Regions from separate parts of the Homo sapiens genome. Here region 1 is linked to region 2. Evidence: promoter capture Hi-C in human tissues and cell types (Jung and others, 2019). All regions are on one chromosome and are shown on one strand. The core of a region is centred on a gene start or on the middle of the fragment in contact, and the rest is flanking DNA. Distances in the headings are between cores, read along the strand shown.

Evidence for each region. The method cuts DNA at HindIII sites, captures the fragments that hold promoters and counts their contacts. A contact is called where the count stands out against the background at its distance.
Region 1: a contact is called between a fragment that was not itself captured here and the fragment with the promoter of SERPINH1 in region 2, in 1 of the 25 tissues and cell types used here (IMR-90 fibroblasts).

The regions. Positions count from the first base shown.
Region 1 is chr11:75,769,600-75,775,239 of GRCh38, reverse strand. The region is part of intron 1 of DGAT2 (diacylglycerol O-acyltransferase 2); the gene reads right to left. Among named protein-coding and RNA genes, the nearest start is that of DGAT2, 3.6 kb to the right of the region's middle. RefSeq lists enhancers at 1,385-1,614, 1,755-1,904. The HindIII fragment of the contact is 5,867 bases long and covers 1,445-5,640 here.
Region 2 is chr11:75,557,715-75,563,502 of GRCh38, reverse strand. SERPINH1 (serpin family H member 1) reads right to left here and starts at 1,250. Exons shown (of 5, transcript NM_001235.5): 1 at 1,184-1,250. RefSeq lists enhancers at 1-489, 490-1,030, 1,031-1,570, 4,152-4,693, silencers at 1,195-1,244, 1,255-1,514 and cis regulatory regions at 3,706-4,556, 5,029-5,259. The HindIII fragment of the contact is 16,066 bases long and covers 1-2,855 here.

The sequences.
Region 1 (5,640 bases), core at 3,129-5,628, 210 kb before region 2:
CCTCCCCTCTCTAGGTTTCCCCATTAGCACTAAATTAGGAAGCTGGGGTGGATTTGTTGAAATCTGAGTGCTGCTAACTTGGGCCACCTGTGCTCTGCTAGAATCCACAAATGAATTTTTATCCACAGAAGATCTCCCGAAAGGGAATATAAGCCCATCCTCGGGCTACTCCATACACCTGGGTTTTTGTGTATTCCGTTTTCATCAAGTAGAACTTTCACAAAGTTCCAAGAGGTAAGGCCAAGGAAGTGAGACTCTTAGAATGCCATGTTCCTGATACCGAACATGGATCTACATCCAGGACCCTGGACATGATTGCTGAGGACCCCAGGGGCCCACTTCCCCCACCCCACCCACTGTGACCAAGCACATTCAAAAAGTAGCTACTGCAGTGGAAGGGGCTGCCATGGCAACACTACTAGCTTGCGAGTAGGTCACCAAGGAATCTCCAAAATACGTCCCCATCACAATATATGGGCAAGCATGGGGAGACAGGTTCTTCTGGGGCACTTACCTTGGCCCCAAGTGGATGAGTGCACCATTTTCACAAGGAGAAGCTGAGGACAAGAATGAGGAGGTGGCTGACCTCAAGAGTCCCACAGCAGTTAGGGACAAGAATGGAATCGCATTTCTCCAGCAGGGATGTAAGGAAGCCAAGGGGGTCATCTCAACCAGTCCTCCTCACTGTGCAGATGAGAAGGCTGAGGCCCTAAGAGGCAGTGTTATACCCAAGGTCACATGGGAAGCAGAGGCAGGGCTTAGAATGGCTAATTCTGCTCTAATAAGAAAAGGAGTTTGTGTTTCCCATTTCTATTGATTTACCCAAAAGGTTCACAGGGTGTAGCCTGTCTGCATCTGCACCATAATCTGCACAGGTTCTTATGACACTTTTGCTCATTTCATAGATGAGGAGACTGAGGGTAAGGAAGGGTAGTGGCTTGCTGAGGCTGCGGAGCAGTTCGGTGGCCAAGCAGGAGCTGGACAGAGCCCAGGCCTGACTCCTACCCCTGGGCCCTGCCCATGAGGCCCTCAAATCAGCCAGCAGCTCCATACCAGGAGGCCCTCAAAGTGCTGGAGGCCAATAAACTAACTGCACCAGGCTCCTTTCCCATGAGCTCTCAAGTCTTCCTCCTGCTGCAGACACAGGTGAGCCACCACAGGCCTGGATCCAGCATCCTCTCTGTCTCTCTTGTCTCTGGCTCTCAGTACACCAAGACCTCAGCCTCAGTTGGTCACTCAGAGGCCCTGCAGTCAGTCTGCCTCTCCCATCCAAATCTCATGCCTCTATTTATGCTATTTCCTGTACCTGAATGTTCTTGCCTGTCTTGCTGATGTCTATTCATCTTTCCAGATCCGGACTGAATGTCACCTCTTCCAGGAAGACTTCCCTGACCTCAGGGTGATCAAGCTCCCCGGTCTCACCTCTTGGCAGTCTTTCCTGTCATTGCTCAGATCACTCTGCACAGTCATCTTGTGTACATCCCCCTGGTCTCACTTCCTCAAACGCAGGGACTGCAGCTGACACACAGAAGGTGCTCAATCAATAAAATGAAGGGTCCACACCCCAAGTCCCTTCCTCAGTGAAGCCTTCCTGGATGCCCTAGAGCAGGGTCTGCCACTCTCTACAGTGTTGGGGGCCTGCTGAATGTGTAACACAGGACAAATGACAAGGACTAACATGAATGTCACAAGTTCACAAACACTCACACTCAGGTTAACTCAAACCCTCCATCCTTGAGAATCTGAGAATTCTGACCCTATTTTCCAGATAGAAGGAGTGAGATCCCCAGAGAGGAAGTGAAGCCCCCAGCCACATCCCAGAAAAATGTCAGGCCTGGAACCCCAGCTCTCGGGCTTCTAATAAGCCCTGGGAAGCAGTAAGGGTGACCATTGAGACTGGCTCTGCCCACTTGCCACTCAGCCTTGGAGCCAGCTCCTTGCCAGACTGTGGGTACCTCCAGGGCAGGGAACAGCTACAACCCCAGCACCCAGTCCCTAGCACAGGTGGTTACAGGGACAGAGGAGGCCCAAGGAAGGCTCGAGGAATCACACTGAAGCTAAAAGCAGGGCTTCCTCCAAGAGGAATGGGGCAGTCCCACTAATGATTCCTTCGTTTAACAGATACTTACTAAGTACCTATTACCAGTGCCAGGCACTGTGCTAGATGTCACAGCACTGAGAAAGACAGACAAGGTTCCTGTTTCCAAGGGACTCATATTCTTTTTCTGTTTGTTCTTTTTGTTTTGTTTTGAGATGGAGTCTCGCTCTGTTACCCACGCTGGAGTGCAGTAGCACAACCTTGGCTCACTGTAACCTCCTCCTCCTGGGTTCAAGCGACTATCCTGCCTCAGCCTCCCAAGTAGCTGGGATTACAGGCACACACCACCACACCTGGCTAAATTTTTTTATTTTTAGTAGAGACAGGGGTTTTACCATGTCAGCCAGGCTGGTCTCGAACTCCTGACCTCAAGTGATCCTCCCACTTTGGCCTCCCAAAGTGCTGGGATTACAGGCGAAAGCCATGGCACGCGGCCGGCAAAGGGACTGATATTCTTACTGGGGAGACAATTGCTTAAACAGATAAGCACGCATGAAAATTTAGGTAGTGATAAAGGCTATAAAAATAAAAGAAGATGTGGTGATTGGAAGTGGCTCTCTAGATTGGAAGTGGCTCTCTAGATAGGGTGGCCAGGGAAGACCTCTGAGAGGAGATTGACTGTTGTAAAGCCAGCCATGCGAAGACCTGGGCAGACAGGCAGCATATGCAAAGGCGCTGAGGTAAGACTGAATTGGGAGTAATGCTGCAGGAACAGGAAGACCACCATGCGTCTGCAGCATGGTGGGTGACATACTAGGAGAGGAAGTCGTGATGGCAGTGGAGGCTGTTCACCTGGGGCTTACTTCATAGGCCAGGAGGAAGAGTTTGGAAAGTCTGAAGTGTGACTGAGTGTGGGTAGGGGGCAACTGGCATTCACCTGGCAGCCAAAGCTCTGGGGGATCTTAGTGCTCTAATCCACTAGGGCAGGCTTGGGGAGCTTCCTCAAAAAGTTTGAGAAGGGATGAGCTGCCACCCGCACCATGGAGACAACCTTCACTCATTCAGCAAACCACTGAGCACCTACAATGCACAGAGCCCTGCACTCAGCCCTTCACGGCCTTGCAACCCTTCTCTTGGCTTAAGGAGTCAGGCCACAGACTGGGAGATGGATCTGAGTTCTAGCCTGGCTTTGATAACCCTGGGAAAGTCCCTTCTTTCTGGAGACTCCAGTGATCCCATCTGTAACATGAGGGTTGGGCCCGATCCAGCACTAATTTTTACAACTCAAGTACTTGCTGTTGAATTTGAGGGCAGGAGGGTGGAGGTGGGGCAGGATTTCAACACTGACCATTGAGTCACTGAGCCTGTTAATACAACATTACTCTTGGCCCTCCTTTCTCAGCCTAGATGAGCCCTTGGTGACGCAGCCCCAAAGTGGCCTCTATTCAGCTGGGGAAGTGATGTAGGTGAGGGGGGAAGCCACACGGAATTGGAGAGGGAAGCATGAGAGTAATGTTCTCATTCTGACTTAGGACTAGGTTAGGTGACTGTCAACCCTCAGTTCCCAGTTACCCCCAACAATCTAGCCACTTAGTTTCAAGCAGATCCACAGTGATGTGGAACTCCATCCTCACCCACCCCAGCCTGTTGCAGTCCTCAACAGCTGTCAGAAAGGACTCCTCTGCTACATCAAAACTTGCACCCATCATCCCACTCCTATTCCTGGCCTCACTCTTTGGAGCCGCACACAACAAATCAGCTCAAAATTTTACTGGGACCACCAACATCTCATGCTAGGTCCTGTGCTGAACCCTGAGGACACAGGCAGGTGTCAGAGGGCTCTTCTGAACGAAGAGCCCCCAATCCAAAGGCAAGGATAAAGAATAGGATATATATCCCTCCTGTCCTGATGAACTCTGCAAACTCCACGTCTGGCACAGGACAGCCCTCCAAGGATTAGGAAATATCAACACAGACTCCCGCTTCCCCCAGCATGCACCCACCTACCCATACTCCCACAGCTGGCCTTTTTTTTTGGCCAAGAAACCAGATGCCAAGGTATCTATTTCAATCTCTCACCCGTCACAGGACTTCCCTTCACAGAATCCATGGTCTCTACTTGAATACTGTCACTGACGGGCTGTTCACCAGCTCACAACAGTGGGACCTTACCCACAGAGGCAAACTAGGCCACTGGGGAGTATCTTCAAGGACCAAGGATCTAGAAGGCAGGTCTAATGGAGATGCCCAGATAACAAAATGTGCTTCAGTGCCCTCCCCTACTCCACCCAATCTTTCACCAAAGTAGATCCCAGAAAGCTGAACTGACTGGTTTGCATTTCATACCAGCCCTTCCTACATTCCATGATGTAAATCCTTGCACCCAGTTTAAAAAAAAAAAAGTTTTCAAGATCTGATAACAACATGGGGAAATGTTCCTGACATGATATTAAGTGGCTTGGTTAAAACCATTCGCTAGAGTACAAGTTCTCCTAAGGAACAAACTCTAAGTCAAAAACATGACAGCCAGGGTCACTGCCTCCTGGAAGACACAGCTCCCAGCCTGTGGATGGCAGAGCCGACGGAATGGGGTCTCCAGGAAGCACTACCACAGAGAACATCCCTATCCCACTGCCCAGTGCAAAAACATTTTTAACAGCATGAACAAGGGCAAGTCCATTCATCCATTGATGTCCCTAAGGACATCAAAGGACACAGGGAACAGAAAAGGACTCAAGTGAGAGAAGGGGCTGTCAGAGGCTACTGGCTGGATACATGGGGCAGCTCAAGCTGCTCGCCCCCGAGACAGGGCAGCAGCTGGGTTCCTCTTCAAGGGCTACGAGCAGCACCCACACCAAGAGGGGCAGATAACCACAGCGATAATCACACAAGAAGCAATGCCAATGCCTAGGTCACAGTTAAAGTGTGGTACAGCTGCAGGGTGGGTTATTGCAACCACTAGGACATTGTAAGTGATTCTGATTAACAGAAGGGAAACCTCGATGTTACATTAAGGGGGAGAAAACAAGATTCATAACTATATCTACAGCATGTCCTCAATTGTATCTATGCAATGTGTATAAAGAAAATGATCAAGAGATATACTAAAATGCTAATAGGAAGGTATCTTTGGATAGTCGATTTACCAGAAATTTTTTTCATTTGTCTATATTTTCAAAAATTCCATAATTAGCAAGCTTTATTTTTGTAACAAAGGTGGGCGGTGTAGGCGACCGTTAGTTACTAAAGAAAAATCCATGTCAGAGAGGCTCAGCAAACAGAATACAGACTTAGAAAGAGGGAGAGGGGCTTCATGCAAGACACACACGCAGACCAGGACAGCTGTGATGACTTCCCAGGGTCTACCGGATTTGTACTTGAATCCAGGGGTCAAGGCATCAGCTAAGGAAAACTTAGGCATGCTTCCTCCCACTTCAGTTTCTCCAGCTCTAGGTAAGGGAGGTGGGGGTTGGAAGAGTTGCTATTCCTCGCTTGGGAAAAGCTGCGGGGGGTGCGGGGCGGGGGTTGATTTCAACTCTGCGCGATTCACTGAGGACCTCAGTTCTACCTTGGAGGACATGCAGGGTCCTCTCCGCTGCCTT
Region 2 (5,788 bases), core at 1-2,500:
GCACAGAGCCCCTCCTGAGGGCTGCATGCGGTGTCCTGTTACACAGCCAGTACAAAAAAAAAATCTCTGCTGGGAGTCCCGGTGACAGAGGAGACAAAGGAGAGGACGGGAAGGGGGGATGGGTACATGAACCATCTGAAGACAGGAGGGTGTGGCCCCGGCCGGAATTCCGGAGAACCAAAGCCCCCTCATTTTCCTCAGGCCTCCATCCGGGCCGTACAGCCCAGAGGGACCAGCGGGAAACAAGGAAGAGGAGGGGCTGAGACTCTGGGCCAGTCTGGAAGTGCATTCATTCTCCTTCCTGCTCTTCAGCCACCTCAGGAATGTCTCTAAGCTGGGGGGCAGGGAACCCCAGCCTCTGGAAGTTAGACCCTGCAGTTTAAACCCTGCAGTTACTCCAAGAACCCTGTGGCAGTGGACAGAAGGAAAGACTCAAATCCTTCTAGTCAGCCCCTTAATCCCCAGAGCAGAGCAGACCCTGCTGACCCCCACTCTCTTTTTTCGGAGTGGTAGGGAGCCTCGCTGGCCAAGTCTTTCCTTTGGCTGCCATCATCTAGGCTGCAAGCTGCTGATCAGAAATTGAGCCACTGTCGCCCACTTCTACCAGAGCACACGGACCCCAGGAGTCGAGACGATTTCACCTCCTTTCCCACCACCGGAAGCTCAAATTCCCTCAGCAAGCCTGTGAGGAGGCTGGGCCACCAATCACCGCTGCCCCTGAGCCTCAACCCCAGAACGGAAGTGACCTGGAACTGCGAGGCCGGCCTATCCTCCCTACCCTTGCGGGAAGAGGCACCAGACCCATCTCCTTCCTCCTCTGTTTCTTTCCGCAGAGGCTCTGCTCTCTGCCCCCAGCCCCCTTTACACAGCACCTAGTCTCGTATCTGCCACCACCACCTTTTAGGGGTCCCTGCACTTTTTCCCAGTCCTCCGAGTGCACGGACTCCCAACCCGGCTCCGATCTCCGCCCTAGCCCTCAGCTGGCACCATCACTGGCTAGCCCTGGGCTCTCGATTCCAAACCCTCCAGCGGCCCCCAAAGTGCCGAGGACTCCAATTTGTAGGCTCTGGCTCGGCACCCAACGCTTCGCAGGGTCCCCTCGCCCCTCTTACTCCCTCGCGCACCCCCAGATTGCTCGGCGCTCCCCCGGGCCGCACGCACGCAGGCGTCTCCCGCCCCTCACCTGGGTCGGGCTGGGCTAGCGCCGGGACGTGACTCTCGCTCTCGAGCCGCGACACGATTCTACTCTTAGCCCGCTCCCCTGCTCCCGGGATCTATATATGGCAGTCCCCACCCCCTCCTGCCCGTCCCGAGAAACTTCTGGAAAGTTGGAAACGCTTCCGGAGGGCGCCCCAGCTCCGCCAAAAAAAGCCAAAGACCTCCCTCAAAACCTCCCCGGCCCCCGGCCCCTCCCTCTGCCGGCGCCTCCCGGCCCCTGGGTCCTACTGCCTCCCTCGGCGGCCCGGGCTGCGGGGCGCCGGGAGTCCCCACGGGGATCAGCGTGTCCTTCAGAGTGCGAGCTTCCTCCCACCCCCAGGCTCTCTGCATAAGCTAGCCCACTCCGAATCGCACGTCCTTTCAGGCGCCCCTTTCCCCGCAGGGGCTCTGCCCCAAGCAGAGCCATCTCCCCTTCTCCCCGCTCTCCCCCATTTTCAAGCTGAAACAATTGAGTCCTGTGCACCCCCTCCCTCTCAGGGGAGACGTTCAGGCTTCTGAAGGCAGTGCCCTTCTCCATACTTGTACATTCAAAAAACCTCAACCTCAGCGATGGCCAGAGGGAGAGGGAGCAGACCAGACCCGGTACCTGCCCGGCACCCGGAAAGTTCAAGTCGTGGAGTAATAGAGGCAGAGATGCCTGGGGAACTTCAGGTGGTCTGGCTGGGCTTGGAGGAGTGCACAGGAAGGAAAACCTGGCTCTCCACTGAGCAAGGTGCTGTGTGACCCTAAGCAGGTTACTTTCCCTTTCTGGGCCTCTGTTCCCTTGGCTGTGAAATGTGGTTCTAAGGCATCCCTTGCTTTTTTTCCCCCCTCTCTCCCTTCCTCAATCCTTGTCACCCCTGGCCCCCTCCCTATTGCATCCCCTCCCTCTTTGGGTCCCCTCCCACAGGCCTCAGGTCTCACTGTCAATTCCTACCCCACCCTCGCAAACTGATAGCTCCTTGACCTCCAAGTTAAGCTAGGGTATTCATTACTGTTCTAGGTGCTGAGGACACAGCTGAGAGCTGAACAAAGTCCTTGCCCTGTGCGATGTCCATCTGTGGGGTATGTACCTGTTAGTAGGGAATTCAGTGATTCAGTGAGGCAGATTATTTAGGAAACCCTAAATAATCTGGGCGACAGTGGCTCAATTTCTGATCAGCCGAGGCTCCCTACCCTCCGAAAAGTCCTCTTTAGTAGTTTAATGATAGCTATTGGATGGACGCAGTATGGAGAGGAAGGGACAGGGTAGGGACTCTTCATTCATTCAGTCATGAATGAATGCATTGAGTATCTTCTTTCTTCTAGGTGCTTGCCTGGATCCTGGGGAGCAAAAAAATCCCAGTACCCAGCAAATGAGTCAATCACCTGGGTCCCTGCCCTCTGTTAGTGGTTGTGGGGAAGCCTGGTGGTGGTGACAAACCTCTCTGTCTGGGTAGGCTTCTGCAGCTCAGAGTCTTTTGAGTACAAGGACTGTGGGAAATCTCAGATCCCAAAAGCTTCAGACTCTGTGATTCAGGGTCAAGGAATCAGAGATTACTTCCACTCAAAGCCCCCAAGGAGTCTTTGAATCCAGCTAAGGAATCTTAACATGTTAAAATCTCAGAGTCGAAGGATTCTGGAATAAATGTATTAAAGACTCTGAGCTGCAAGGCATCTCAGAGGTCAGGGGTTCCTGTCTGCAGCCCCAGGCAGAAGCCCTCTTCTCAGTATCCCAAAAAGGCAAGCACCGAGGCACCTCTAAGAAGAGAGAGCTTACCTCCTTCAGAGGCAGCCCCGCATTCTTTTTTAGGACAGGTCTGATTATTAACAAAAGCTTCCAGCCTTGGCATGGTGTCCATCTCTTTGGGGTGGCTGTCGTGGTTCTCATGTGCTTCCTCCTGCCTCAACTGTATATTGCTTTTAAAGATAAATTCTAGGCTGGGCGCGGTGGCTCATGCCTGTAATCCCAGCACTTTGGAAGGCCGAGGTGGGTGGATCACCTGAGGTCAGCAGTTCAAGATCAGCGTGGCCAAAATGGTGAAACCCCATCTCTAATAAAAATATGAAAATTAGCCAGCTGTGGTGTCATGTGCCTGTAATCCCAGCTACTCAGGAGGCTGAGGCGGGAGAATCTCTTGAACCTGGGAGGTGGAGTTTGCAGTGAGCCGAGATCATGCCACTGCACTCCAGCATGGGTGACAGAGCGAGACTCCATCTCAAAAAAAAAAGATAAATTCTTGTTTATCCAAGGAGACCTCCCGGGTCCCAGGCCAGACCCCACTCTCTACTCCCACCCCCACATTGGCCCTCAGGCTTCCTTGTGACTTGGTCAGTGAGCTGAGGGCAGGGCAGAGCAGAAACAAAGAGTGCCCATCAATGCTGGCAAAACAGAGAGGGTCGCCTGGGTTTTCAGCAGGTTCAGATGTCACAATCCCAGTGAGACTCCCTTCCTCTACTCTCTTACATCTCTTAGCTCTTTTAGGCTTCACCAACACCTGAGGGGGAGACTGAGAGTGCTGTGACTGTCCCATTTTGAGGGATAAACCAAAGCTCATGCTGTTAAATAGACCCAGTATCATGAGTGGTCACTGAAGAGAGGACCTGCCCTTACAGACAGCAAAGCTGAGGCCTAAGGAGGGCTGGGTCTGAAGGCCCAACCCCCATCCGACCCCCACTAATCTCACACCGGGTCAGAAGCCTCCTCTGTGACCTATCCCACTGCTGCATTATCTCTGTTATCACCCTGTATTGTCAGTGAACCATCACTGGAGACTTTGGAAGGGCAGGGCCTTTTCCTTGTCACTGTGAGTCCCCAGCTCCAGCAAGGGGACAGTATGGAAGAGGCACTGGGTAAGCATGGCTGGCCAGGGGATGAGAAGTGGCTGCCTGAGGCTGCTGTGCCCCTAGCACAGCCTCCCTGAAGAAGGGAAAGCAACGGCTCCTTTAAATTTCCAAGATCAGCAAAAAAAAAAAAAGTCAAGAGCCTTTGCCACAATATTCTTAGCTCTGAGCCCAGCCCAGACTGACTGTGGCCCTTCCCCCACATTCCAGGCAGAGCTTTCCGGAAAAAGCACTCTTTTAGGGGGTGGGGGAGAAGAGTCTGATAAGCAGAGAAACTCTCAAGCATTTTGTCTCTGGACTCCTCCAGTGCCTCGCTTCACTGAAGGAAGTGGTCCTGGTGCCTGGCACGTGGAGGCTGGCTGGAAATCCTCTAGATCCCTAGGTCCCGAGAGGTGTGGACAGCAGAAAGTAGAAAACCATCAAGTCCAACTGCATCCACACTATACAGAGAGGACAACGGAAGCCCAGAGAGGGCAGGAATTTACCCAAGGTCACACAGCATATCAGAGGTGGGGCTGGGCTGGAGCCTAAGCCCTGGACTCCCAGCCCTCTTTCTCCCACAGTACCCTCTAATGACCCAGGGGGGTATGTAGGCCCAGTTCTGCCAGGTGCTGTGGAAACAGCTTTCTTTGGCCCCAGTGGCTAGATTCACTCAGTCTTCACCCCATAGAATCCTAGGACAAAAACTTGCATGTCATTTAAGTGTGCAACACATTCACATTTATTATCATATTTATTCCTTTCAGGTAAGGAAGAATGTTCCAATTTTCAGCATGAAGAAACTGAGGATCAGGGAGACTAAGCAACAGGGTTAAGGGCACACAACAAGCCAGAGTCAGAGCTGGGTTTTGAATCAGGTCTGTTTATGCCATATCCACGGGAAGGCAGGGAGTGGACGAGAAGGAAGTGACATTTATGGGCCATTTTGCCGCTGCCAGGCCTGTGCTGGGCACCGTCATTAGTGTCTCACTTTTAATTATAGAACGTTAATCGGAAGGAAGTTTAATCCCCTTCTTTTTACATTGGTATAAAATTGGAGCCCAGAAAGCTCCGACAGCCAGTCCAGGGTCGGCCCCCTCCCTCAGGGAGCCAGGGCTGCTATAGGCAGCTCTTCTTTGAGATGCTGTCCAGGAGCCAAGAATGTGCTCTCAGCCCAAGGCATGAGTCAGGAAAACACGATTTCTGTAATCTTGGATTCTCTCTCTTGGAGCGTGGGGCCTTCCATCCAAAAAGGGCTGTCCTGCGTGCTGCCACGTTGGAGGGTGGGCAGCCGGTCCATGTGGGGGTGGGTGGGCACATGATTCCTCCCCTCCTCCTCCCAGAGCAGGCCCGCCCCTACCCGTCTGCAATCCTGGTGCTGAGCGAAGCCACATAGGAACTCCAGCGCCTTCACCCACATGCCTGGCACAATACCCAGGAGACACAAGCCCACTGACTCGCTATATACACAGGCGTATGTGCACCCACATACATGGTGCACACACGGCACTTGAGCAGCCCCTTCACACAATCCATGTACACACATGTCTGTGTAACTCCAGTAACCCAAATGCACCCCACCCCCCTACACAAGTTTTTGTTGGGTATTGACATATACACAGGATCAGGTTCCCCGCCCCCTCTCCCAGCCTCCCTCTCTCAGGCTTCCTCTGGCAACCCATGGAACCAGCTCCAGTGCCTGCAAGACCAGGCCTGAAGGGCTGGTGGGATGGAGGATGTGTGTTAACTACAGCCCTGCCTTTCCCTTCCCGTCTTGTTCTCCTCTCCC